Regions from separate parts of the Homo sapiens genome. Here regions 1, 2, 3, 4 and 5 are each linked to region 6. The links are contacts of gene promoters, found by promoter capture Hi-C in human tissues and cell types (Jung and others, 2019). All regions are on one chromosome and are shown on one strand. Each heading gives the region's core, a stretch centred on a gene start or on the middle of the fragment in contact. The rest is flanking DNA. Distances are from core to core; before and after follow the strand shown.

What was found. Contacts are between HindIII fragments. The study calls those that stand out against the background at their distance.
Region 1: a fragment that was not itself captured here is called in contact with the fragment with the promoter of ZNF418 in region 6 in 2 of the 25 tissues and cell types used here (IMR-90 fibroblasts and stomach).
Region 2: a contact is called between the fragment with the promoter of ZNF211 here and the fragment with the promoter of ZNF418 in region 6, in 3 of the 25 tissues and cell types used here (adrenal gland, liver and mesenchymal stem cells).
Region 3: a contact is called between a fragment that was not itself captured here and the fragment with the promoter of ZNF418 in region 6, in 2 of the 25 tissues and cell types used here (pancreas and spleen).
Region 4: a contact is called between a fragment that was not itself captured here and the fragment with the promoter of ZNF418 in region 6, in 3 of the 25 tissues and cell types used here (adrenal gland, lymphoblastoid cells and stomach).
Region 5: a contact is called between the fragment with the promoter of ZNF544 here and the fragment with the promoter of ZNF418 in region 6, in 1 of the 25 tissues and cell types used here (adrenal gland).

What each region holds. Positions count from the first base shown.
Region 1 is chr19:57,675,079-57,679,049 of GRCh38, forward strand. ZSCAN4 (zinc finger and SCAN domain containing 4) reads left to right here. Exons shown (of 5, transcript NM_152677.4): 3 at 963-1,463; 4 at 2,836-3,001; 5 at 3,088-3,971. The coding sequence starts at 1,068. The coding sequence ends at 3,827. Among named protein-coding and RNA genes, the nearest start is that of ZNF551, 4.9 kb to the right of the region's middle. The HindIII fragment of the contact is 5,379 bases long and covers 1-3,971 here.
Region 2 is chr19:57,631,591-57,635,623 of GRCh38, forward strand. ZNF211 (zinc finger protein 211) reads left to right here and starts at 1,578. Exons shown (of 4, transcript NM_006385.5): 1 at 1,578-1,846; 2 at 2,433-2,471; 3 at 3,039-3,165. The coding sequence starts at 1,757. RefSeq lists enhancers at 1,178-1,267, 1,338-1,387 and a silencer at 1,828-1,897. The HindIII fragment of the contact is 12,794 bases long and covers 1-2,585 here.
Region 3 is chr19:58,247,734-58,251,819 of GRCh38, forward strand. All of the region lies in intron 6 of ZNF544 (zinc finger protein 544), which reads left to right. Among named protein-coding and RNA genes, the nearest start is that of ZNF544, 21 kb to the left of the region's middle. The HindIII fragment of the contact is 5,984 bases long and covers 1-4,086 here.
Region 4 is chr19:57,653,732-57,658,151 of GRCh38, forward strand. It overlaps a transcript of ZSCAN4 not described here. Among named protein-coding and RNA genes, the nearest start is that of ZSCAN4, 13 kb to the right of the region's middle. The HindIII fragment of the contact is 8,692 bases long and covers 1-4,420 here.
Region 5 is chr19:58,227,287-58,231,430 of GRCh38, forward strand. It overlaps ZNF544 (zinc finger protein 544), which reads left to right and starts at 1,628. Exons shown (of 7, transcript NM_014480.4): 1 at 1,628-1,660; 2 at 2,182-2,284; 3 at 3,108-3,176. RefSeq lists an enhancer at 1,504-2,330. The HindIII fragment of the contact is 3,442 bases long and covers 1-3,400 here.
Region 6 is chr19:57,932,241-57,936,691 of GRCh38, forward strand. It overlaps ZNF418 (zinc finger protein 418), which reads right to left and starts at 3,162. Exons shown (of 6, transcript NM_133460.3): 1 at 2,921-3,162; 2 at 1,577-1,662. The coding sequence starts at 1,582. RefSeq lists enhancers at 2,565-3,447, 3,040-3,129. The HindIII fragment of the contact is 9,006 bases long and covers 1-4,451 here.

The sequences.
Region 1 (3,971 bases), core at 267-2,766, 260 kb before region 6:
GAAGTAGCTGGGTTTACAGGCACGTGCCACCATACCCAGCTAAGTTTTGTGTGTGCGTGTGGCTTTTTTTTTTTTTTTTTTTTTTTTGAGACGGAGTCTTGCTCTGTCAGCCAGGCTGGAGTGCAGTGGCGCAATCTTGACTCACTGCAATCTCCACCTCCCGGGCTCAAGCAATTCTCCCATCTCAGCCTCCTGAGTAGCTAGGACTACAGGTGCATGCCATCATGCCTGGCTGATTTTTGTATTTTTAGTAGAGATGGGGTTTCACCATATTGGTCAGGCTGGTCTCGAAATCCTGACCTCAGGTGATCCACCTGCCTCAGCCTCCCAAAGTGTTGGGATTACAGGCATGAGCAACCACACCCGGCAAGTTTTGTATTTTTAGTAGAGATGGTGCCTCACCATGTTGGCCAGGCTAGTCTCGAACTCCTGACCTCAAGTGATCCGCCCTCCTCGGCCTCCCACAGTTCTGGGATTATAGGAGTGAGCCACTGTGCCCAGCCAAGGATATTTCCTAATAGTTCTAGTTTATTAAGTGCCTTTTTCAGGAATAAACATTGGCATTTAAACATTTTAAATGCATTCATTGAGATGATTTTATTATGTTCTTGTATCCATATCCCGTTAACGAAGTAAATTGCATTGATTTTTGAATTTTAACCCAAACTTCCTGCATTTTGGAAATGAACACCATTTGCGATGTATATGTGAGTAGATTTTATTTTCAAATATTTTGTTTTGGATAATTTTAATGTATTTGTAAAATTTTGTTATCAGGAAGTGCTGACCTCAGTAACTAAAGTGGGTAGTGCTTCCTCTTATATGCTCTGGGAGAGTTTATGTTAAGTTATAATTATTTCTTTGAATTCATCCATAGAGCCATGTAGGCCTAACTTTTTGGTTGATTTGTCTTTAATTATGCCAGTGGTGCAATTAATTACTCATCTCTTTTCTATTTCTAGCTTGCAGTTTTAAAGAATCCACCAACTGTTGAAACAAATCCCTAGAGACACAAGGCAAGAGACTGAATCATCAAAGTAAAGTCTCTCTGAGAATTATTGCTAAGAATGGCTTTAGATCTAAGAACCATATTTCAGTGTGAACCATCCGAGAATAATCTTGGATCAGAAAATTCAGCGTTTCAACAAAGCCAAGGACCTGCTGTTCAGAGAGAAGAAGGGATTTCTGAGTTCTCAAGAATGGTGCTCAATTCATTTCAAGACAGCAATAATTCATATGCAAGGCAGGAATTGCAAAGACTTTATAGGATCTTTCACTCATGGCTGCAACCAGAAAAGCACAGCAAGGATGAAATTATTTCTCTATTAGTCCTGGAGCAGTTTATGATTGGTGGCCACTGCAATGACAAAGCCAGTGTGAAAGAGAAATGGAAATCAAGTGGCAAAAACTTGGAGAGATTCATAGAAGACCTGACTGATGACAGCATAAATCCACCTGCCTTAGTGAGTACAGGGTTCTAACTTCTGGGATGAGAGACAAAGGAAAGTAAGGAATAAATCACAGTCAGTTAGAGTTGTCTGGAAGTTAGAGAAGCTATTGGAGGTCCAGTTATTAGTCAGCTCACACTCTCCCACCATTCTCACAAAGAATAATCTTCAATGTCCTAAGTTCTCAAGAAAAAAAGCAAAAAGGTATATATCTGTTTATTCTGTAGGACATATAGGAGCCAAACATATTGATGTTTGATTAACTTAATTTTAGTCTGCATAATGGCAGACTCTGAGAAATTGACTTTTTGGCATGATATCAGCTCACTGCAACCTATGCCTCCCAGGCACAAGTCATTCTCGTGGCTCAGCCTCCAGAGTAGCTGGGATTACAGGCGTGCTCCACCAAGGCCGGCTAATTTTTGTATTTTTAATAGAGACAGCGTTCCACCATGTTGGCCAGGCGGTCTCGAACTCCTGGCCTCAAGTGATCCGCCTGCCTTGGCCTCCCAAAGTGCTAGGATTACAGGTGTGAGACCAGCCTGAAATTGACATTTAAATGAAGACATCAAGGTTGAGGAAGAAATGTCTTGACAAGAGCTTGTTCTTCTGTCAGGGAACTCTAATCAAGAAAGACATTCTAAAGAAGCAATTACGGTAGATCCTTATTCTCAGAGCCCATATTTGCAAAATTGCTAAAATTTATTTGTAAGCTTAAAATAAATACCTGAGGCATCTTCTCCGTCATTTTCAGATATGTGCAGGTGGTAAAATATTTGATTTACCTTAGGTGCATGTTTCCAGGTGAGGTTGAACAAGGCCACAACCTCACTTCCTATTTTGGTTCCTACAGTGTAAATAAGTGTCCTTTTCACAGTCTATTTAGTGGCACATTTTTTTTTTTGCTTTTTATTGATAACTTTGTTGTTTAAAGTGACACTGAAGTAAAATGCTGAAACACTGTCTAGTCTTCCTAAGTGCAGGAAAGTTGCTATGTATTATGGAGATAATACATGTGTTGGATCCTCTGAGTTCAGGATTAATCAATAATATATATTAAATGGGGTGTCTTTGAACATATACACACATAAAACAAACTCATGTATTGATCAGTTGACAAAAATAATGTAGCCAGAAGCTCACAGGAAACTAACCCTGAATTTTTCCTAGGGGAAATGATTCAGTACTTGTAAATTCAATGTCCATGTGACTTTATTAAACATAAGAGCTTGTAGTAACAAGAATAACACCATCAGAGATGGTGGACAAAATATGTGATAGCCAATACTTGAGGGAGCTTGTGAGAGCCTGTTAAGGACCACTTTTCCAAAAAGTCTTCTGTTACACAACAGATTCAGATACAACAGTGATCTGGCTTTCTTTACAGGTCCACGTCCACATGCAGGGACAGGAAGCTCTCTTTTCTGAGGATATGCCCTTAAGAGATGTCATTGTTCATCTCACAAAACAAGTGAATGCCCAAACCACAAGAGAAGCAAACATGGGGACACCCTCCCAGACTTCCCAAGATACTTCCTTAGAAACAGGACAAGGTAAGTCAGGTGAATCTGCACAACTGAGGAGTGTTCTATGTGGACCCCTTCTTAAGTACAACTTCATTGAGTGTCTATTTTCACAGGATATGAAGATGAACAAGATGGCTGGAACAGTTCTTCGAAAACTACTCGAGTAAATGAAAATATTACTAATCAAGGCAATCAAATAGTTTCCCTAATCATCATCCAGGAAGAGAACGGTCCTAGGCCTGAAGAGGGAGGTGTTTCTTCTGACAACCCATACAACTCAAAAAGAGCAGAGCTAGTCACTGCTAGATCTCAGGAAGGGTCCATAAATGGAATCACTTTCCAAGGTGTCCCTATGGTGATGGGAGCAGGGTGTATCTCTCAACCAGAGCAGTCCTCCCCTGAGTCTGCCCTTACCCACCAGAGCAATGAGGGAAATTCCACATGTGAGGTACATCAGAAAGGATCCCATGGAGTCCAAAAATCATACAAATGTGAAGAATGCCCCAAGGTCTTTAAGTATCTCTGTCACTTATTAGCTCACCAGAGAAGACACAGGAATGAGAGGCCATTTGTTTGTCCCGAGTGTCAAAAAGGCTTCTTCCAGATATCAGACCTACGGGTGCATCAGATAATTCACACAGGAAAGAAGCCTTTCACATGCAGCATGTGTAAAAAGTCCTTCAGCCACAAAACCAACCTGCGGTCTCATGAGAGAATCCACACAGGAGAAAAGCCTTATACATGTCCCTTTTGTAAGACAAGCTACCGCCAGTCATCCACATACCACCGCCATATGAGGACTCATGAGAAAATTACCCTGCCAAGTGTTCCCTCCACACCAGAAGCTTCCTAAGCTGCTGGTCTGATAATGTGTATAAATATGTATGCAAGTATGTATATTCCTATAGTATTTATCTACTTAGGATATAAGATATAATCTCCTGATTATGCTTTCAATTTATTGTCTTGCTTCATTAAAATGTAAGGCTAAGGAGAG
Region 2 (4,033 bases), core at 328-2,827, 300 kb before region 6:
CCTTAAAATAATATAAACTTTCTGGGCGACGGAGTGAGGCCCTGTTTAAAATAATGATAATAATTTGATATTTTATGCATTAAAAACTTTTGTCTGGGCATGGTGACTCATGCTTGTAATCTCAGCAGTTTGGGAGGCTGAGGCAAGAAGATTGCATGGCCCTAGGAGTTTGAGACTAGCCTGGGCCCTATAGGGAGACTCCATTCCTACAATAATTTTTTTTTTAACTAGCCGGGTGTGGTGGTGTGCTTGTAGTGCCAGCTACTCAAGAGGCTGAGGTGGGAGGATCACTTGAGCCCAGGAAGTGGAGGCTGCAATGAGCTATGATTGTTCCACTGTACTCCAGCCTGGACAACAGAGTGAGACCCTGTCTCAAAAAAAAATTAAATGTTTTGATTATACAAGGAAAATGAACATTCATGTATTAAAGCTTCATGTTTTATGAACAAAACTGACTTTGCAGGCAGGAGAGCGTTTTCTGGGGGCACCAGAAGCAGGGAACTTCCCTTGTCCGTTGGCTTCAGGGCTGCCCACTATCCCTCCACTATCTTCCCATTGTAGCCCTGTCTGGTGTCTTTTGTCCCTGACAAAACCTACAAAAAGTGACTTTAACACTTCAGGCTGCATGCATTTGAAGAGCAATAAGATAACGTTTTTTCGCTTCCCACTACCAGTGGAGATCTGCTGGGGTGGGCTGCATGGAATCTGAAATGATGTCTAAATACTGAAGTGAACCTCTACACTAGAGACTGATATACAGCTGACCCTTAAACGACGCAGGGGTCAGGGATACCGACCCCTGCGGAATTGAAAATGCTTGTATTACTTTTGACTCCCCTAGGTCTTAACTACTAATAGCCAACTGTTGCCCGGAAGCCTTATGAAGTTGCCCGGAAGCCTTATGAATTACATAAACTCCCAGTCGATTAACACATTTTGTATGATATATGCATGATATATGCATAATATATATGATATATGCATTTTGTATGATATATGCATTATATATATTTTAGTATAAGAACTATACTTGTACTAAAACAGACCAGAGAAAGGGTATCAGGAAAATTGTAAGAGGCTCGTTGACATTACACCCAATTAAAAAAAGGAAAATAAAAGAATACGGAAGGGAAAATACATTTACTAATCATTAAGTGGAAGTGGATCATCATAAAGGTCTTCATCCTTGTGTTCTTCATGCTGGGCAAGAGAATGAGGTCTTGCTGTCTCTGGGGCAAGAGGTCGGGGAGCTGGAAGAGGCAGGAAAAGGAGCACACTCGAAGTAACGTTTATTGGGGAAAAAAAACGCCTACGTGTAAATGGACCCGCACAGCTCAAACCTGTGTTGTTCAAGTGTCAACCTACTTAAGACCTCAAACACCGAAGCCCCTCAGTCGCCCTGGAAGGCAGCAGACGCAGCTTCCTAGCGCTCCCAGCTGTCTGCACACAAGGCGCCCTCCGTCGCAGCCTGGGGGAGACTACATTACCCAGAAAGCCTTGCGTCGAGCGGCAGTACTTTGATCCAATGAAAATCCAAGACAGGGGCATTTCCGTGTGGGTCTACCCCCGCCCCCCCCAGGGCGGGACTTGTGGCGTCTTCGCAGCGGTCATTTTGGCTGCCCTCCCGGAGGTCCGTTCTGTCTGTCAGCCGCTTTGGTACGCTGCATCGGGATCGAAGTGACGGACCGTGAAGGCGCGAGAGTCAGGTCTGAGGGTCGGGGGCAGAGCCGCCCGCGAGGCCGGCCTGGGGATAGCGATGCTCGGGTTCCCCCCGGGTCGCCCGCAGCTCCCGGTCCAGCTCCGCCCACAGACTCGGATGGCGACCGCACTGAGGGACCCGGCTTCGGTGAGCGCTGCGATCTCCGGGCCTCCCCCGGCCGAGATTCTTAAGTCCCAAGTGAGAGGCACCAGCTCACGTCTCTGTAGCACAGGGTCGGGGACACTGAGGCTCGTGGGTGGGGCCCCTATTTCTGACATCCGATGTGGTGGGCAGGGGGACAAGGGACAGGACCGGCGCGTGCAGGGCTTGGACGGGCAACCGAGAAGGGGGCATTCAGGAACCTGGGCTCCACATTGTTACTGCAGGGAACAAAGTTTGAGAGAGATCTACCTTTATTCTTAGGGCCGTGGGAGCCATAGAGAGCTTGCGCAAACGAGAGACACCATCTGAGTTAAATTTGAAAAATCCTCTGCAGGCTGTTCAGTGGAAGAAAAGACTTTAGAGATGGATGAGGACGTTGAGGCAGAGGGAGGTTGAATATTTTTCCAAGGCCACACAACTGGTGAGAGGCAGCACTAAGGACCGAGGCGCACAGGTTAGACAGTCGACCCAAAGTTACGTGGCTCTGGGCCGGGGCAAGGGTACAGGGAAGGCCTGTGCCCATGGAGCACTGCCATGATCACATTCCTCTGAGGCCTGCGTCTTTCCACAGGTTCCCATAGCTACAGAGGTGCTTTTCAAACTTACACAGGTAAGTGGAGGTATCTCAGCCCCTCACTGGTCTGGAATGTCCCTCCACCCTCCCCAGACAGATATTTTCTTTAGATTTGTGGTGTCATGGGACTCACCTACCATTCTCTCAGCGTTTGGTTTGGGAACCCTGGAGAATCCCTGAGCTAAGGGCCCTGAGTCCAGGCCAATGTTTCCATTTGGAGCAGCCAATGGAAAGATGGGTGAAAATTTATGATAGAAACAGGTAGGTACCAGCTTTTGGAACTCCTTGGAGGTGAGGCTGAGCTGGTTCAGGGAACTGCAGGTTTCCTTTATTTCTGTGAAGTTTGGCATCTATTGTGAGGAAGTTGGAGTTTGGGATCAGAGGAGGGAGATTTATCTAACCCAAGTGTTGACAGGATACAGAGTGGAAAACAGAATGAACACAGTGACTAATGGGAATGTGAAGAGACAGCAGGGATCAATGACACCAAGGTCTGGTGTCTCTTCTGACTTGGGGATCTTGGGAGGAGAATGTATGGGGACATGGATTTTGAGTCTTCCAAATTGAGACTGTTCATGGTTTCATCAATCCCTATTATGCTAGGGAAGTGTGACCTTTGAAGATGTGGCCGTGTACTTCTCCTGGGAGGAATGGGATCTCCTTGATGAGGCTCAGAAACACCTGTACTTCGATGTGATGCTGGAGAACTTTGCACTTACGTCCTCCCTGGGTAAGGCCCTCATACTCACCCTTGTGCCCTGGACTAGGCTCTCTGTTTCTCCTTTTCCTCAGGAGCAGCTCTGTCCTCATATCTGGACTATAGGCACTGCCTCCTTCCCCAGTTCCCTGGGTAGATGTTGTGGACTGAGTGCAAGCCTACTTCCCTTATCGTCCCAGCCCAAAAGCATCTTGGGTAAGGATTTGGGATCAGTAGTCTTACAGTAAGCCTAATAGATCCCACCTGACTTGCCTTCTCCCTGTCTGGTGACTTTCTAGATCTATGGCACCCAGTTTTCCCTCCCTTCGTGTACCTAACATTTATTTGTGCTAGACTGTGACATGAAATGTAGTCACTGACATTGCCACTATTTACACAGACTGTTCTTCAACCACCAACCTTTCCATTAACAGCAGAACACTCTAACAAATTGTGCCGCAGAGACATTACACAGACTGTTCTTATAGAAACCTCCTTCAAGGTGTTTTTCTTTGTTTTTAATTGTAAAATATATATAACAAAATTTACCATTTTAATCATTTTCAAGTATATAGTTCAGCGCATTTAGTACATTCGCATTATTGTGCAACCATCACCACCATCCTTCTATAGTACTTTTTCATCTTATAAAACTGAAACTTTGTACTCATTAAATAATAACTCTTCCCATCCCCTGGCAACCACCATTTTACTTTTGGTCTGTATGAATTTGTCTACTGTAAGTACCTCATATGAGTGGGATCACACAATATTTGTTCTTTTCTATCTGGCTTACTTCACTTAGCATAATATCTTCAAGATTCATCCATGTTGTAATATATATCAGAATTGCTTCTTTTTAAGGCTGAATAATATTCTTTTGTATGTATTACAGTTTGTT
Region 3 (4,086 bases), core at 749-3,248, 310 kb after region 6:
ATGTTGCCCAGGCTAATAGACTTTATTTTTTAGAGCAGTTTTAGGTTTATAGGTAAGTTGACGAGAAAGTGCAGAGTTCCCACCCATGTCTGCTGTCCTACAGACACATGCAGTGTCTCCTGCTGTTAACAACTTGGATTTGTATTGTACATCTGTTACAATCGGCAAACCTATCTTGAGGCATCCTTTTTTTTTTTCCCAGACAGAGTCTCACTCTGTCACCAGGCTGGCGTACAGTGGTGTGATCTCAGCTCACTGCAACCTCCGCCCCCCAGGTTCAAGTGATTTTCCTGCCTCAACCTCCCAACTAACTGGGACTACAGGCACGCACCACCACGCCCAGCTAATTTTTGTATTTTTAGTAGAGTCAGAGTTTCACCATGTTGGCCAGGATGGTCTCGATCTCCTGACCTCATGATGCGCCCCCCTCAGCCTCCCAAAGTGCTGGGATTACAGGCGTGAGCCACTACCCCTTGCCCTTGAGGCATCATTATCACCCAAAGTCCATAGTTTATGATAGGGTTCATGCTTTTTTTTTTCTTTTTTTTTTTTTTTTTTTGAGACAGTGATGCAGTCATAGCTTAAGCCTTCTGGGCTTAAGTGATCCTCCCACCTCTCTGCACCCCAGCCTCAGGTGCCACAGCATGCACCACCATGCCTGGCTAATGTAAAAATTTTTTGTAGAGATGGAGTGTCACTGTGTTGCCCAGGCTTGTCTTGAACTCCTGGGCTCAAGTGATCCTCCCACCTCAGCCTCCCAAAGTGCTGGGATTACATGTATGAGCCACTGCACCTGGCCAGGCTTCACTCCTGATGTTGTATATTCTGTGCATTTGGACAAATGTACAATGTCATGTATCCACCATTATAGTATCAGACAGAGTAGTTCCACTACCCTAAATATTCTCTGTGCTCTACCCATTCATCCCTCCCTCATCCCCAGCCCCTGGTGTTACTGGTGGAGGATGTGCAGGTTCTTGGCATTTTGAACAAAGAATTGGACAAAATGCATAAAACAATGAAAGAATGAAGCAAAAAAAGCATAGATTTATCAAAATGAAAGTACACTCCACACAATGGGAGTGGTCTGGAGCAAGCAGCTCAAGAGCACTGGTTACAGAATTTTCTGGGGTTTAAATCCCGAGAGGTTTCCCATTGGTTACTTGGTTTATATCCTCTGTAAATGAAGTAGTGGCCCATAACTAGTCTGATTGGTTGGGGAAGGTGACCAACAGAGGCTGAAGTGAAGTTACAAAGTTACACCTCTATGCAGATGAAAACTAGGCCAGTGACCAGTCTCATTGGTTGCAGGAAGAGGTACTTTCCATTTTTCATCTGCGACACAGAAGGCGGGGGTTGCCTCTGATCCTTTTGTTATTTGGGGCATGGAAAGTTTGGGTTTTCCTTTTGATTCAGTTCCAGGAAGTCAGCATTAATCACCCTTAGGTTTCTTGCCTCCATACCCTGTTCTCATACCTCATTTCCCCCCGAAAGACATGATCCTCATAAATCTTTATGGGAGGTAAAGGGATTGATAGTCTTTCTTCTGTAACTGCTTTATGCTGACCTGAGGCACAGTCCCTACGTACTGGGGAATCACAGGACTCTCTCCCCGCCCTGTCTAGTGGAGACAGGATAGCTTCTTGATGGCCAGGGGTGGTGTCTCCACCTGGAACTGGCTGGAAACATTGTCACATGATCATCTGAAGCTTGATGGTCTCTAGGTGACAGGAAATGAATTTGGTTAAGAGTTTAACAAACATGGTCCAAAAACCAAGGCAAGTATAGTCATTACTAATGGGCTGGCCAGAGGAAGGAGCCATGAACCCCAACTTAGCATTTTTGACCAGGAGCCCCATGACTCAGATAGCTGTTGTTGTATTTTAGAGGCCCAGTTGGGTAGTTTTTGGGTGGCATTTGTTACTAATCCTCATTGTTCGGCATAAAAACAGCATTCTTCCTCTAGAAAAAGACCTAAGCCCCCCTTTACAGCAGTTAGGAGATCTCATCCCCTTCTGTTTTGCCAAGCAACTGCTGCTGAGGCATCTATTTGATTTCGTATGGTGATGATACTTTGGCCAATGTCTCTATTTTTTCTTTTTTACTTTGGGCAATGTCATTCAAGCTTTCCATAAAATCCTTGGAAAAGCATTGGTAATAGGATAGGGATGTTACAACCCGGCTGACTCCCATTCCCAGTCCCGCGGTTATTTGTAGTCCTACCAAAAGGGATGTGAGTTGGATGGTTCATTTGTGTCTGGCAATTGCAGTTAAAGGTATAATGAGGGATTGGTTCTTGGGAGCTATATTAATTTCACAGGCTAAATAAACAAGTGTAAAGGTTCTAGTCCAATTGGCTGGTAAACATAAGTAAGAACTAGTTCCACACAGGTAAAAGGCTCCTAGTTTTTCAAGACAAGAATTTTCTATGGTAAACATGTGGGTTAGCTTGTTGTTTTCACTTTCCCAAGTGGTTAAGGTCCCTATGAAGGTGGCCCCAGTTAAAGGCTGGAAAGGACCTTGGGAAATATTCTGAGTTGCCCCAGCAGTTCTGTTTTCCCATTGGAGGTAATTAGGCTTAGTGTCTACCAACAAGCATCCAGAGGTGTTTCGTACTGGGGAACCAAAAGATAACTAGATGTCTGAGGATTAGTGCAGTCTTCCCAAGGGAAAATATGATCATAGCTAGTGGGCTTACCTTGGCAGTACTTAGACTGTGTATCCTTTGAAGTGTCCTTATCTAGGGATGGTTTCCATGAAAACCATACAGGTTTTCTAAATGACACAGTCTGGGTAACTGCCTAGCTTATGTAATCATGTGAGGGGTTAATAATCTCTAGGGTGTAGTTACACTGATGACTTTTCAAGGTTCCCAGGGCCTGACCAAAATTTTGGCTTCTCTTAATACAAAGTGGCACCTGGAATTTTAGCTCTGTGTACATTGATATTGGGCCCCAAATGGGTTTCTGTGGGATGCAACCCCAGAAAGGGTACTCTGATAGTACTGGAGAAGGTTTACTGCTTGTCCTGTCATCGTAGTTCATGTTTTTTTCCCCAAGGCCAAAGATTGGGCTGGGATTGGGGTGGTAGTGTATTTGAATGATGCTGGAGATAACCAAAGCCAACAGTCTTTGCCAGAGCTGGGCTGGTGGTATTTAACTGTCTTTGAGTTAAATGTAAAGTTTTTAATAAATACCCAGAATCCATTAACTGCTGGAGGGGTAAAGTGAAGCTCTGTTGTAAAATAAAGCTGATTCCCATTATGCGTGGTCCTGTATACACAGGCTGTGGGTGACCATTATGGAACCAAAAAATACTTATTTGTTATTTTGTGCTATAGAATAGGAACTTCAGGGGTGGATACCTATGCTGTCAGGAATGCTTGTTATAAGAATTAATTAAAACACTTTGCTTAATTATTACAAAGGAAGTTATTCCATTTGTTTAGAAGAAAGCAATTAAATTGTAGAAGTATAACAATGGCTACTATTATCCAGTTTAAAGTAACTAAGCAACAAAGACACCAAGGAAAGTTGGTAGGCTTTTACTTATCTTTTGGCTGTCTTTTAAACAGGTACTTCAGGTCTTTCACAAGTCACAGGTGTAGTGGCTGATGGGAGCTTCAGGTTCCCGGTCTGGGACTTCACATAACACAGGCTTGACACCAGAAAGATGTATCCAACTATCTAATCCTAGTACTTTGACCCCAGAAGGCATGGCCAGTACTGAAAATGGTCCCTTCCACTTTGATTGTAATTATTGAGCAGGTGATCCCTCCTTCTATGTTTTAACAGGTACCTTGTCTGTTGGCCTGATTTTGGGTTGGTGGTTAGTTCCTGGTGTGGGGAGCTTTTGAGTTCCAAACTCTTGTAAAGCCTGCTGAAATAATCCCAGGTTAACTAGGTATTTTACTAAACTGGATGTTTCTGGATCAGAGATTAGATCATTAGTTAAAAATGGCCTTTTGTATAACATTTGTGTGGGCTCATAATAATTTTTTCTCTAGGGGAATTATGGATTCTTAAGAGGGCTATGGGCAGTAAGCAGATCCAAGTTTCTGATGTTTCCTGACATAGGAACTCCTAT
Region 4 (4,420 bases), core at 1,561-4,060, 280 kb before region 6:
CTCAGGACAGCCCTCACCAGGAGCCTGTTTTAAGTGCAGCCAACAGGGTCATTGGGCAAAAGCCTGCCCTAATCCCAGGCTGCCCTCAAAACCTTGCCCCATCTGTGGTATCAAGGGACACTGGAAGTCAGACTGTGCTCAGCAAGACGCTTCATCCTGCTTGACCACCTCTAACTCAAACAGGTCCCCCATTCCAGATCCCAGTCTGGCAAGCATTCTTGGCCTGGCCACTGAAGACTGACAGGATCACCCACTACCATCACCACCTTAGAACGCAGGGTAACACTGTCAGTCTCTGGTAAGCTCATGTCTTTCCTGTTGGATACTGGGCAACATACTCAGTTCTACCAGAATATTCTGGACCTCTCCTCAGTTCTTCCATCACTATTTTAGGAGTTGATGGAATACCCTCTAAACATAAACAGACTGGCCCCCTATTATGTAACCTAGTCAACACTTGCTTCACCCACTCATTCCTGGTCATCCCTCAATGTCCCACCCCTATTTTGGGACTGAATATATTAATCAATTCCAGTTTTCCATAGAATTTACCCCCTGTCATTCTACCCCTTTTATTTTACTCTGTCAACTGGACACTTCCCTCTCCTCTCCCTCATCTTCCTTATCCAATTTGCTAGCCTCTGTCAACCCCAAGGTTTGCGATGTTTCCAAGCCAACAATAGCAGCATACCACACCCCAGACAAAATAACCTTTCAAAACCCTTCTACATTCCTTTGTCAGCCCAGTACCTCCTTAGCCCAGCTGGCCTCAGAGACCTCAAACTCATTCGTTGGAAATTCCTGCAAGCCCAAATTCTCAAGCCTGTTAAATCTCTCCACAACACCCCTATCCTGGCCATCTGGAAAGCTGATGGGTCCAACTACCTGGATTTTTTATTTATTAACCAGGCAGTGGTGCCCATCCATCTGGTGGCCCCCAATCCCTACACTTTACTTTCCCATATCCCCCCACCTCCACCACTCATTTATCTGTATTGGACTTGAAGGACACCTTTTTTCACCATCCCCTTGGATCCAGCCTCCCAAAGCCTTTTTGCTTTCACCTGGACAGATCCTGATACTCACACATCCGCACAGCTAACATGGACTATATTCCCACAGGGGGGCTGGAATAGCCCCTGCTTATTTGGACAGGCCCTCACCAGGGACCTGGCTAAACTTCCCCTTGCTCCTAGCACCCTCCTCCAATACATCAATAACACCCTTCTCTGTAGCCCCTCCCTTAACCTATCTATCCATCCAACACATCATTCAGCTTCTAAACTTTCTCCATTCTTGGGGATATTAGGTCTCACTCACAAAGGCTCAAGTAACCCAACCCCAGGTTACCTACCTTGGACTTATCCTAATCCCTAATATTCAGGCCATACCAACCCAATGGAAGAAGCTAATCCGGGATATGCCCCTTTCTCATACAAAGAACCTCCTTTCCTTCTTGAGCCTTGTGGGATACTTCTGGCTATGGATTCCCAACTTGCTGACCAAGCTGCTGTACACCACATCACGTGGGCCCATCCTAGAACACCTGGATCCAGTCTGTACCATTGACTCCCAGTTCAAAAAACTGAAAAATGCCCTTTCAATGTCGCCAGCACTGGGACTACCCAACCCCAACAAGCCCTTTACTCTGTATGTTCATTCTAACCAAGGCCTTGTTCTTGGGCTACTCTGTCAAACATTCAGCGGTACCCCACAAGCCATTGTATATCTCTCAAAACAACTGAACTCAGTCATCTAAGGTTGGCCACCCTGTTTAAGGATCTTATGTGTGTCTATGCTGCTGGCCTCAGAAGCTCAAAAACTCACCCTCTATCAATACATTACCATTGCACCTTCTCATAACCTACAGGAACTCATGAGTCATTGCTCCCTTCTTTCCCTCCTGCTATCTTACTTACAACAAACACACACCTCCTACATAAACAACCTTCTAATCACCTACCAAAGATGTAAAGTTCTCAACCCAGCCACCCTCTTCCCTATAAGGACCTTTGACTCTGAACTCTGTCACTCCTGCTTGGACTTTTTAGATTCCCTTTCCTTCCCTTTCCGACACATATCAGAGACCCCCTTACAGGGGACACCTACATGGTTCATTGATGGGAGCTCCTTTAAAGAGCCATGTCTTGCAGCAGGCTACACCATCGTTGCCAAACACAAGCTCCTAGAGTCCAATACTGTCGCATCCCCTACCACCTCCTAACAGGCAGAATTAGTCGACCTAACTAGGGCCCTCACCCTAGCAATAGGAAAAAGGGTCAATATTTACACTAACTGTAAGTATGCATACCACATTCTACACTCCCAAGCCTTAATCTCACAGGAAAGAGCTTTTCTTAGTACCAAAGGGACCTGCATAGTAAATGGCAAACTGATACACAGGTTGCTGGAGGTAGCTAAACTACCATTAGAGGCCACCATTATCCATTGCAATGGACACCAGAGAGCTACAGATGCCATAACCAAGGGAAACATTATGGCAGACTCAGCAGCCTGGCAGGTGGCCCACAACATCCCATCACTGTTGTCCATTTTCCCAGCAGACATCCCTCATACACCCAGGAGGAACAAGTCAAACTAACACTGGGGCTACCCAAAGGGAAGGCTGATGTTATCTTGACACAAACTCATCCTGCCCAAATCTCAAGAACTCTCTATTCCCTCCCACATCCACAACCACTTCCATGCTGGTTATTACCACATACCCCAGTTTTTAAAAACTTACACACACTCCACCACCATGACAACCAACCTTGAATGTTTAACCAGTCTGCCCAGTTTGTGGTCAGACTTCCCCTGAAGGGGCTCTTAAACCACCTCCTTTCTCCACTCATCAGGCATGAGGCCATTTCCCAGAACAGGACTGGCAAGTTGACTTCACCCATATACCCCCTGTAAAAAAAGGAAAGGGCCAACTACAGCCTGGGAAAAATATTTGTGAAACCTCTATCTAATAAATGATGAGTATTCAGAATACGTAAAACATCCCTACAAATAGCATAAACAACACAATTTAAAAATAGGCAAAAGTTCAAGACCAGCCTGGGCAACATGGCAAAACACTGTTTCTACAAAAATTAGCTAATAAGCTGGGCATGGTGGTGTGTGCCTGTGGCCCCAGCTACTTGGGAGGCTGAGATGGAAGGATCACTGATTCCAGGGAGGTCGAAGCTTCAGTGAGCTATGATCAAATCACTGCACTCCAGCCTGGGCAACAGGGTGAGATATCATAGCTGTAATTCCAACGCTTTGGGGGGCTGAGGAAGGCGGATCACTTGAGGACAGGAGTTCAACATCAGCCTGGCCAACATGGTGAAACCTCGTCTCTAGTAAAAATACAAAAATTATCCGGGAGTGTCCAGGAGTGGTGGCAGGCACCTGTAATCCCAGCTACTCAAGAGGCTGAGGCAGGAGAATTGCTTGAACCCGGGAGGCAGAGGTTGCAGTCAGCTGAGATCGCGCCACTGTACTCCAGCCTGGGCAACAAGAGTGAAACTCCGTCTGCCCTCCGTCTGTCTGCAACAGAGCTAGACTCCATGTCAAAAAAAAAAAAAAGGCAAAATATTTGAACACATTTTTCACTAAAGATGATATATGAATGGTATATAAATGCATGAAAATAAGTTCAGAATTATTACTATTTAAGGAACTACAAATGAAAACCACAATGAGATACCACTACATACTCATTTTGATGAGTAACATTAACCGAATGATCACACCTAGCTGTTGAAGGTATGAAATAAACTGGAGCTCTCATACATTGCTGGTGGAAATGCAAAATAAATAAATTTGGAAAACACTGTAGCCGTTATTAAAGTTAGTTGTCCACTTATCATTTGATAAATTAATCTCATTCCTAAGTATAACCTCAAGAGATGGAAACGTGTCCATAGAAATACTTGTATAATCATTCCTCAGTATCCATGGGGGACTGATTCCAGGACCCCCAAGGATACCAAAACCTGAAGATGTTCTAGTCTCTTATATAATATGATGTGGTATTTGCATATAACCTGTGTATATCCTCCCACATAATTTAAATTATAATTTAAATTACTTATAATACCTAATACAATGCAAATGCTGTTTAAATAGTTGCTATACATTGTCACCTAATACAGTGTAAATGCTGTTTAAATAGCTGCTACACAATAGTTGTATTGTTTAGGGAGTAATGACCCAAAAAAGGTCTGTGCATGTTCAGTACAGATGCAATTTTTCTTCCAAATATTCAATTTGCAGTGGGTTGAATCTATAGATGCAGAACCCATGGATATAGAAAGCCAACTGATTTTGCGTGTTATCAACAATTTTCTTCAAAGCTAAAGACTGGAAAACAAAAACAAATGTCTATGCACATCTGAATGGGTAACTGTGTTACATTTATAAATAGAAT
Region 5 (4,144 bases), core at 378-2,877, 290 kb after region 6:
GGCTTCCTCATGGTGCCAGTGTGCTTGTAATTGTCCTACACATCACATACAGACATCACGGTCCAGGGGCAAAAGAAGACACATTGCTATCTTATGTCCACTTTTAAGACTGAGGGAACCGGCCGGGAGCGGTGGCTCATGCCTGTAATGCCAGCACTTTGGGAGGCCGAGGCGGGTGGATCATGAGGTCAGGAGATCGAGACCATCCTGGCTAACAGGGAGAAACACCGTCTCTACTAAAAAAGAAAAATTACAAAAAATTAGCCGGGCGTGGTGGCGGGCGCCTGTAGTCCCAGCTACTCGGGAGGCTGAGGCAGGAGAAAGGCGTGAACCCGGAAGGCGGAGAGTGCCGTGGGCCTAGATCGTACCACTGCACTCCAGCCTGGTGGACAGAGCGAGACTCCGTCTCACAAAAAAAAAAAAAAAAAAAAAAAAAAAAAAAGACTGAGGGAACCTTCCCAGGAAACCCCTAGCAGCCTTATTTCTCCTTGGCCAGAATATCCTTGCCTAATTCACACAGCAAGAAGCTTGAGTCCATTCTGATTAGCTTAGAATCCATCAAGATCCTCCCTTAGGGAGTTAGATTCTAGATTTCCCGGAAGAATCTAAAAATTGCAGGGTCGTGCTAGCCAGGTATGAAAATAAGCAAGTAAAAAGATGATGACTGTTGGGTAAAGCTATCGACAAGGTCAGCTACAAAACAGTCAAGCCAAGGAAGGCTAGTCACAGATGCACCCCAGACACAAAAGCACAGTCCAGGAGCTGAGGGTGCCTGAGCCACAGTGGTTCCCGCCTACCTGGCCTTCGTAGGAAAGTTTCCTGTGGTCTCCCTCATTGAAGAGCCAGGACGGGTCAGGCGGTGGTGGGTCTCAGACATTGAGCCCCACAACGCACTGAGACTGAACATCAGACCATTTATAATAACAGAACTCTGTCCCACAACTTCTGCAGCAATAGGTACAAAACAGAACTTGGTCACTGCCAGCCTCCCTATTTTTTTCCCTGTCCCACTTAGGAGCTACCACAGAAAGCCAAATAGGCTCGACTGAGCGATCACCTAGGACGAATCGCCTCCAGTTAGCGTGCTTCCACCTTCCACTCGGAATGCTCCAAGCAGGGCACTCCCGGGGCTTTGTTTCTATCACTAGGACGCGTCCCCACGCCCAGGCTGTCCCTGAGTCCCTGCCACAGGCGCAGATGTTGGCGGGCGCCCTTGCCCCTGAGCTCCCGGTTAACGGCCTTGGACTGTTCTCATGGCTCAGTCTTGGTCTCTCTCCCCAGCAGGGCAAGGCGCCGGGAAGGCACCCGAGATGACAGCGCCGAGCCCCATAGGCGCTAGTCCCGCCCTGGACGCCGACCGCCGCCTCCACAGTCTCGGCTTCGGTTGCTGGATGAGAACCAGCGTGGCCCGTTTAAGGGGGAGGGGACAGGCGCTGCAAGGAGCAGAGCCGCGGGAAGCAACTCCCTAAGCCACAATGCTAGTCGCGAACACAGGAAAAAGCTCATCCCGCCGCCGCGGGGCCCCATGCTCCCGCCGGCAATGACTATGCCTGTGGGAGCAACGGCTACCGGCGCGCGGCCTTCTGGGAGTTGTTTGTTGCGCGGAGCGCGGGCACGTCCGCCGGCCACCGGAAGCACCGCCATTGGCCGGTGCGTGCAGGTGAGTCTGGCGGCCTCAAGGTTGGCTCGGAGGTTTCACTGTTAGCCGGGTGCGGCCGGAGCGCAGGACCAGGCCAGAGCCGCCCCAAGTGATCTGGGCGTGCCGGAGAAACGAGCAGGGCCTGCGGGGGTCCCTCATGCGGCGAGGCCGAGCAAGGGCAGGGGCCTGATGGGATCGGGATCTCTCCGGCCTCAGGGACGGGGAAGGCCGGTCCAGTCAGGTTTCCCCTGCAGGAGCGCCCGGCTGGGTCTGAGCTTGTCGGGAGGCTCTCCTGCTGCAGAGCTGGGAGGGAACTTATAGTACCTCGCAGGTACGGGCAGGGGTGGAACTGGGTGGGACTGGGTGGGACTGGGTGGGACTGGGTGGGACTGGGTGGGCCCTCCCGACAGAGGGTGCCTGGGTCGAGGGCTGCAGGGGCGGGGGATTCAGGCTGGCGTCTGGAGCTCTGGGGCTGCCGACCCAGCGGGCCTCTCCCGGCTCCTTTTTCCTCCCTCAACTCATCTTCTGCGGCTTATCCACAGGTGGCAGCCAAGAGCCTCCTGGCACAGCGGCACCAGGCAGGTGACGCCTATTGGACCCCAGAGGTCATCCCAGCTCCAGACGTGGACACATTTTCTTCCAATGGTACGTGAAGCTTGAACCTTGCAGAGAACATGTGTATTTTCCAAGTGAACAGAAGATTAAGGCCAGTCCACGCAGGGCAGGGGTAACTGGGGTGTTGGGGGCCTGCACTGGTTAAGCGATGCTGGTGCACCCCATAGAGAGACTACAGAGGTGAACAGGATGGGATGTGTATGTAACGCCTGTAAGTTAGGGATCGGGGTTCCATTTGTGTTGGGTGATATTTGATGGGGACCGTACAAGGCAGTGCTAATGAGGAAGGCATGGGGTTGGATTTCAAGAGTCTAAGGGAGTAGGGAAACATCTGATTGTGGAAATGACTCCGTGTAAGGAGGGATGCCAAAAGACAGGAAGGAGTGGAGGAAGACTGTGTTTCTGTTTCCAGCGTGGAGCCAGGGTAGAAGTCACAGTGCAAGGAAGATGTGGTATGCCTGGTCAGTCTCTGCATGGGAGTTGAGGAGCATGTGGGTGACATGGCTGAATGTGGAGGAGGGAATGGCAGTGGCAGGAAGCCCAGGAGGTTTGGGCTGGACACGTAACCTGGAGCAGATTGGAAACGTCACCCCACAAGCAGGGAAGGAGAAAACTGGAAAAGGAAAGAGAAAGCAACTCCCTCCCCAGCCCTGCAGCCAGAGGGACTTCTGCCAGATCAGCCACCATACAGGTCCAGTATGAGGAACAGATGGGGAATTTTATGTCCAAGTATAATCACTATGAATACATGTGTTGTGCCCCTTTTGCAGGTTAACACAATGTTAAGCTCTGTAAATGCAACTCAATTAATTCTTTTAGCATCCTCACAAGGCAGGTCTTGCTGTTTTTCCAGATGTCTACGGATGAGGAAACTGAGGCCTGGAGAGGTTAAAGAGACCCGTTCAGAGTCCTACAGTGGCAGGTAATGGAGCCAGTACTTTGACAGCAGGTTGCAAAGTGAGTGTTCTCAGCCGTTGCCCTTGGATGCCTCCAGACAAGGAAGGACAGGGTTAGAGAGCAAAGATGGACACAGGCAGTGAGAGATTCCCCAGGGAAGGCCAGGAGCATCAGGACAAGATAGTAACACATAAGATATTGGGCAGACCTCTTGGATGTGGTCTACATTTGTGTTTGTGTGTGTGTTTGGGAGTGAGAGAGCAGAGCAGGATGGGCAAGATGAGGAGGGGGAAACTGAGAGTGTTGGTCACTCTGTTCAGGCCTCACCTGAGAGGAGAAGAGGCAGGGGGTGGGGCACTGGGATATGGATTCATCTTGACCAGGGAGAAGACATCTCAGCTCAGAATTTGAAGGGAGCTACTAATGAGTGCAGGCCTGCAGGAGTTTGTGTGCCAGGAGGTTGAAAGAGTCCAGAGTCATCCCTTGGAGTGAATTAAAAGGCCGATTTGTCTGCACAGAGAGGACAGTGGTGGGAGGGGACTGAAGTAGGGTGTGAGAGCATGAGCTCGCAGCTGTAAGGGGATAGTGACTGAGTGGATACTGGTGTTCCTGAACTCCTATACCACCCAGAACTCAGAAACTAGCAGGGTTGGGCAGAGAGGGCAGTCAAGGGCATAGGCAGATTGCACAGAACAAACAGATCAGAGAGGCCAAGAGGTGGGCCTCAGGCCAAGGATGTTAAGAAAAAGAACAGGGGCATTGGGCTGGGCTGGGGTGGGGTGTACCAGACGGGGAGGCTGGGAGCCTGAGTGGTAGTGTGCTTAGGGCCATGAGCTATGGAGCTCCCACCTTCTCACTCCCCAGCCACGAGGCCTCAGTTAAATTTTACTCAAGTTCTTTCTGCCTTGGTTTCCTCATTTAGAAAGCAGGGTAAATTCTGTTAATTGTCTTTGTGGGGTTACAAGGAAGATCAAATGCATGAATTCAGGCAGA
Region 6 (4,451 bases), core at 1,912-4,411:
AGGCCAGGATACATTATCCAATAGAACAGAGTGGGAAGGGGATTTGTGCTCAGGCCATTTGAGGTCATACAGTATCACCACACACCAACGTTGCACATCACATTGGCCTTTCATTTTCGGCCTTATGCCACAATGTGGCTGACAGAATTCAGAGTATGCTTGGCAAATTCAAACAGGATCCAATATTACCACAGAATTCTCATGGCTCCCAATAGCAATGCAGTCCCAAGTCATTCTATGAAGGCCTTCTTGCATGGCTCCACATCCCCACAGAACCAGGTGGGGCTTTAGATATCCATGGCCCTATTCCACTTCTGTGTTGCACTTGGTGACCCCTCTACAATGACGACTTTCCTCTGTCCACCTAGAGTCATTTAAATCCCACTCCCTTGTTATGGAGAATGGTCTAAGAAAAGTGGAAAACAAAAGAAAAAAATAAATAAAATCCCAGCCCATCAGCTGTCCACCCCAGGCCCAATGTCTGTCACAGATAACCAAATTTACCCTGAGCATGTATCCACCAGGCCGAATGAAAACCCCCAAGCACCAACAAAGTTTTCTCAAAATCTTGGTGAGTCCACAGAGTGGTGAATAAGTACCAGCCTTGGCCCAAGTGTCATCTTCCTTCAATTATTTCTATGCTTCTGCTTACATCTCTTATCTATTCTACCCTTGGAAAGCCTATGCCCCCTGACAAACCATGTTGTCTGACATACCCTATCTTCATGAGCCCTTGCCTCCTTCTCCTGTGGCAATGTCAGCCAGGGACCCAAGCAAGAAATTCAGCCCTCAGCCTGCAACCACCCCTTCCTGGCCCCCACAAAAGATTTACCATGAAAATTTGAAGTGTGTCAATGTCATAATGGAGGCTAAACTATCTCAGACTCTTAACATGGTCAAAACAACATTCTTCACATCCCCAATGAATATTATACCTACTATGTGCTCATCTCAGTTGATGCAGCTTCCATCACTGCAGATGCTAAGACCAAAAACCTGGTGGTCATACCTGATTCCCCTTTCATGCCCTCACAGTCTATTAGAAAATCTAGTTACCGACCGGGCTTGGTGGCTCACGCCTGTAATCCCAGCACTTTGGGAGGCCGAGACGGGTAGATCACGAGGTCAGGAGATCAAGACCATCTGGCTAACACGGTGAAACCCCATCTCTACTAAAAATATTAAAAATTAGCCGGGCATGGCCGGGCTTGGTGGCTCATGCCTGTAATCCCAGCACTTTGGGAGGCCGAGGCCGATGGATCACGAGGTCAGGAGATTGAGACTATCCTGGCTAACACAGTGAAACCGTCTCTACTAAAAAATCCAAAAAATTAGCTGAGCATGGTGACGGGCGCCTGTAGTCCCAGCTACTCGGGAGGTTGAGGCAGGAGAATGGCGTGAACCCGGGAGGCAGAGCTTGCAATGAGCCAAGATCGTGCCACTGCACTCCAGCCTGGGCGATAGAGCGAGACTCCCGCTCAAAAAAAAAAGGAAAATCTAGTTGCCATTTTACAAACTGTGAATCTTGAATCCAGCCACAGCTCCTTACTCATTAATATGGTCCAGTAACCCTCACCTGCATTATGGCAGGAGTTTAAACTCTGATCCTCCTTCCTCCTCCCTCAAACACAGTGTGTTCTCTTCTTTGCAGCCAGATGATGCCTGCAGACAAATGGGACTGTGGTAACATCACCTCCTCGCCGCCCTCTTGCCTCCCCACCGAATTTTTACCTCTAAGCATTTCATGACCTGGTACCAACTCTGTAGTTAACCTTCAAAGTATGTTTACATGGGTTGACAGAAATGGGAATACCTCCATACATCCTGTGTCATGGACTTAGGATTCTGGGTTTAGGGTTTCTCCAGTGTTCTCAGATCAAAGGACTGAAAAAATGGCAAGTAAGAGTCCCAGGACATCACAAGCTAGAGAACATGTGAATGGGGAATAAGGCCAGTGAGGGAATGGAACACCCTCTAATTCCCTCTGTGGGTTCCTTTTTTTGAGCCAGAGTTTCGCTCTTGTTGCCCAGGCCGGAGTGCAATGGCTCACCGCAACCTCTGCCTCCCGAGTTCAAGCAATTCTCCTGCCTTAGCCTCTGAGTAGCTGGGATTACAGTCATGCGGCATCACCACGCCTGGCTAATTTTGTATTTTTGTTAGAGACGGGGTTTCTCCATGTTGGTCAGGCTGGTCTCGAACTCCCGACCTCAGGTGATCCGCCCGCCTCGGCCTCCCAAAGTGCTGGGATTACAGGTGGGAGCCACCTTGCCCGACCCCCTCAGTGGGTTCTTTACGTGCTTTTGTAGCCAGGAGTGTCTGAGGGGAAAGCAGACGTTACAAAGGGGATCTGATAAGCTCAGGTCTCCTTGAACCTTTTCTTATCGCTGGAGCCAGGTGACCTCAGACTGGTTGACCTGCGTGTCTCAGTGCAAAATGTCATCTCTACCACCTATGTGATCTATCAACAAAGGAGTCAACCTCCCAGAACCCTAAGGTCCTCATCTCCTCTACTATGTTCTTCCTTTGGCCTTTGGGAAACCTTAAAAGCCTGGACTTGGATCGCATCCCTCCTTTCTTCGAAACTCTCCATGGCTTCTAGCGTCTTCACAGCGAATACACAGCCCCCAGCCTGCTCTTCCAGGAGAAGCTTCGCCTCACACGTTGTTCCCTACAGGCGCCTGTGGACCCCAGGTTCCATCCTCCCGGGTCTGTCCTCCAGGCCATAGCCCGCGCCGGTCCCTGTGCCTGTCGCTCTCCCCACCGCATCCCACAGGTGTCAGAAACAAGGACCTCTCCCGCGAACGCCTCAGTGTCCCGACGCCGGGTCCGGGCTGCAGACCTGTGAACAGTCGCCGCTCTCTCGCTGCTTCAGGATTCGGGTTAGGATGAGGTGACCTGAGGGCAGGGAAGGCACAATTACCTGAGCCGGGAGCCTCAGCGCGGCCGCCGCCATCCCGAGTACGCGGGGAAAGCACTGCCGGGAGCGGCGGGCGCCGTTACGGGGCCTAAGATCTGCCTCTGTGCAGCAAGAAGGACTCTTCACCTTCTGGGTTCAGACACCGCGGTTCGGACCCATAGCTCCAGCGCCTCTCACCTCACAAACCGCAGAAACACACCCAACATTAACCAAAATGGTCGCTACCAGAGAACGCTGAGAATCCCGCCACTACGTTACGTGCGCACACAGAAACGCCTTTATTCTGAGCCCTTACTGGTTCTGTTGCGCTGTCATTCAATGTAGAGCTTTCTGGGTAATGTAGTTCCCCAGGTTCCAAGGTAGTAAAGCTGCCGCTTCCCAAAGGCGCTTCTGCAGGGAAGTCCCAGCCCTACCTCAGGGGGTTCATTAAAGCGCGTACCCTTTTAGGGCAGAGGATGGTCTCGCCCCTCCTTAGAGGCCATATTGAGATTCCTGGGGAATCCCTGTTTGTAACTGACCACCTAAGTGTTTGCAAAAATATTAATTCACATTTCTGTAAATTCAAGCTCCCAGGCGCTAAAAATACTGTGAAGGCCCCCAAAGGCTACAAATCCAAATTCGTGTATCACTTTATACAATCGTTTAGACACAGAATGCTTGCACTGGAAGCAGAGGCTGATAAACATTACTCTGTTATAATTCACATGAATGCACTCTTGTTACCGGATAGAATGTCTTGGCTGTGAGTTGTCCAGTTGTTGGCGCATTGAACAAAGAAGTGAACAAAACACACAAAAAAAGCAACGAAAGAACGGACCAATGAAAGCGCAGATTTATTGAGGGGAAAGTACACTCCACAGAAGTGGAATGTAGGTGTGGGAGCAGGCGACCAAGCGGCTCAAGAACCCCGATTACAATGTTTTTTAGGGTTTTATTAGGTTGGTGCAAAAGTAATTGCGGTTTTTGCCATGAATAAGCTAGAATTTTATAATACCCCAAGAGTTCTTTAAAGGCCTCCAATCCTATGAAGGACTGGTGCACAACCAATCAGAGGCTGAAGTGGAGACTTCTGTCTTGTTACCACAGGAGTGAGGACGTGGCCTGTGTGCTGCCTCATCTTGCCTAGAACTAGCTGCACCTGCTGTTCTTTTGCTTATGCCTTCATTCTTGGTTACCCTAATTCCCTATTCTCCTGCCTCACTCTGAGGCATTAGAGTTGGTTTTTCAGTCTGCCAGGGACAAAAGAGAACTAATCCAGATAGGACCATGCCAAGGAAGATAGAGGAGAGGCTAAAGAAAGAGTACAAAGGTCAATCAGTCGTTCCCATGGAAAAACAACTCTCCTGCTTATATAGTCAATTATTGTGTCCAATTCATTCAGCAAAACATTTATTCATGTAATATCCCTTACTTGGTATTCTAACTTATATTTTCAACTCATTTTAGGAACTTGAAGTCAGTCTCAGGTAAAGAACAATGAAAGAGAAATCTCAGCTTGGTATTGGTAATGGTGGTGATAATCTCCACCTGGAGA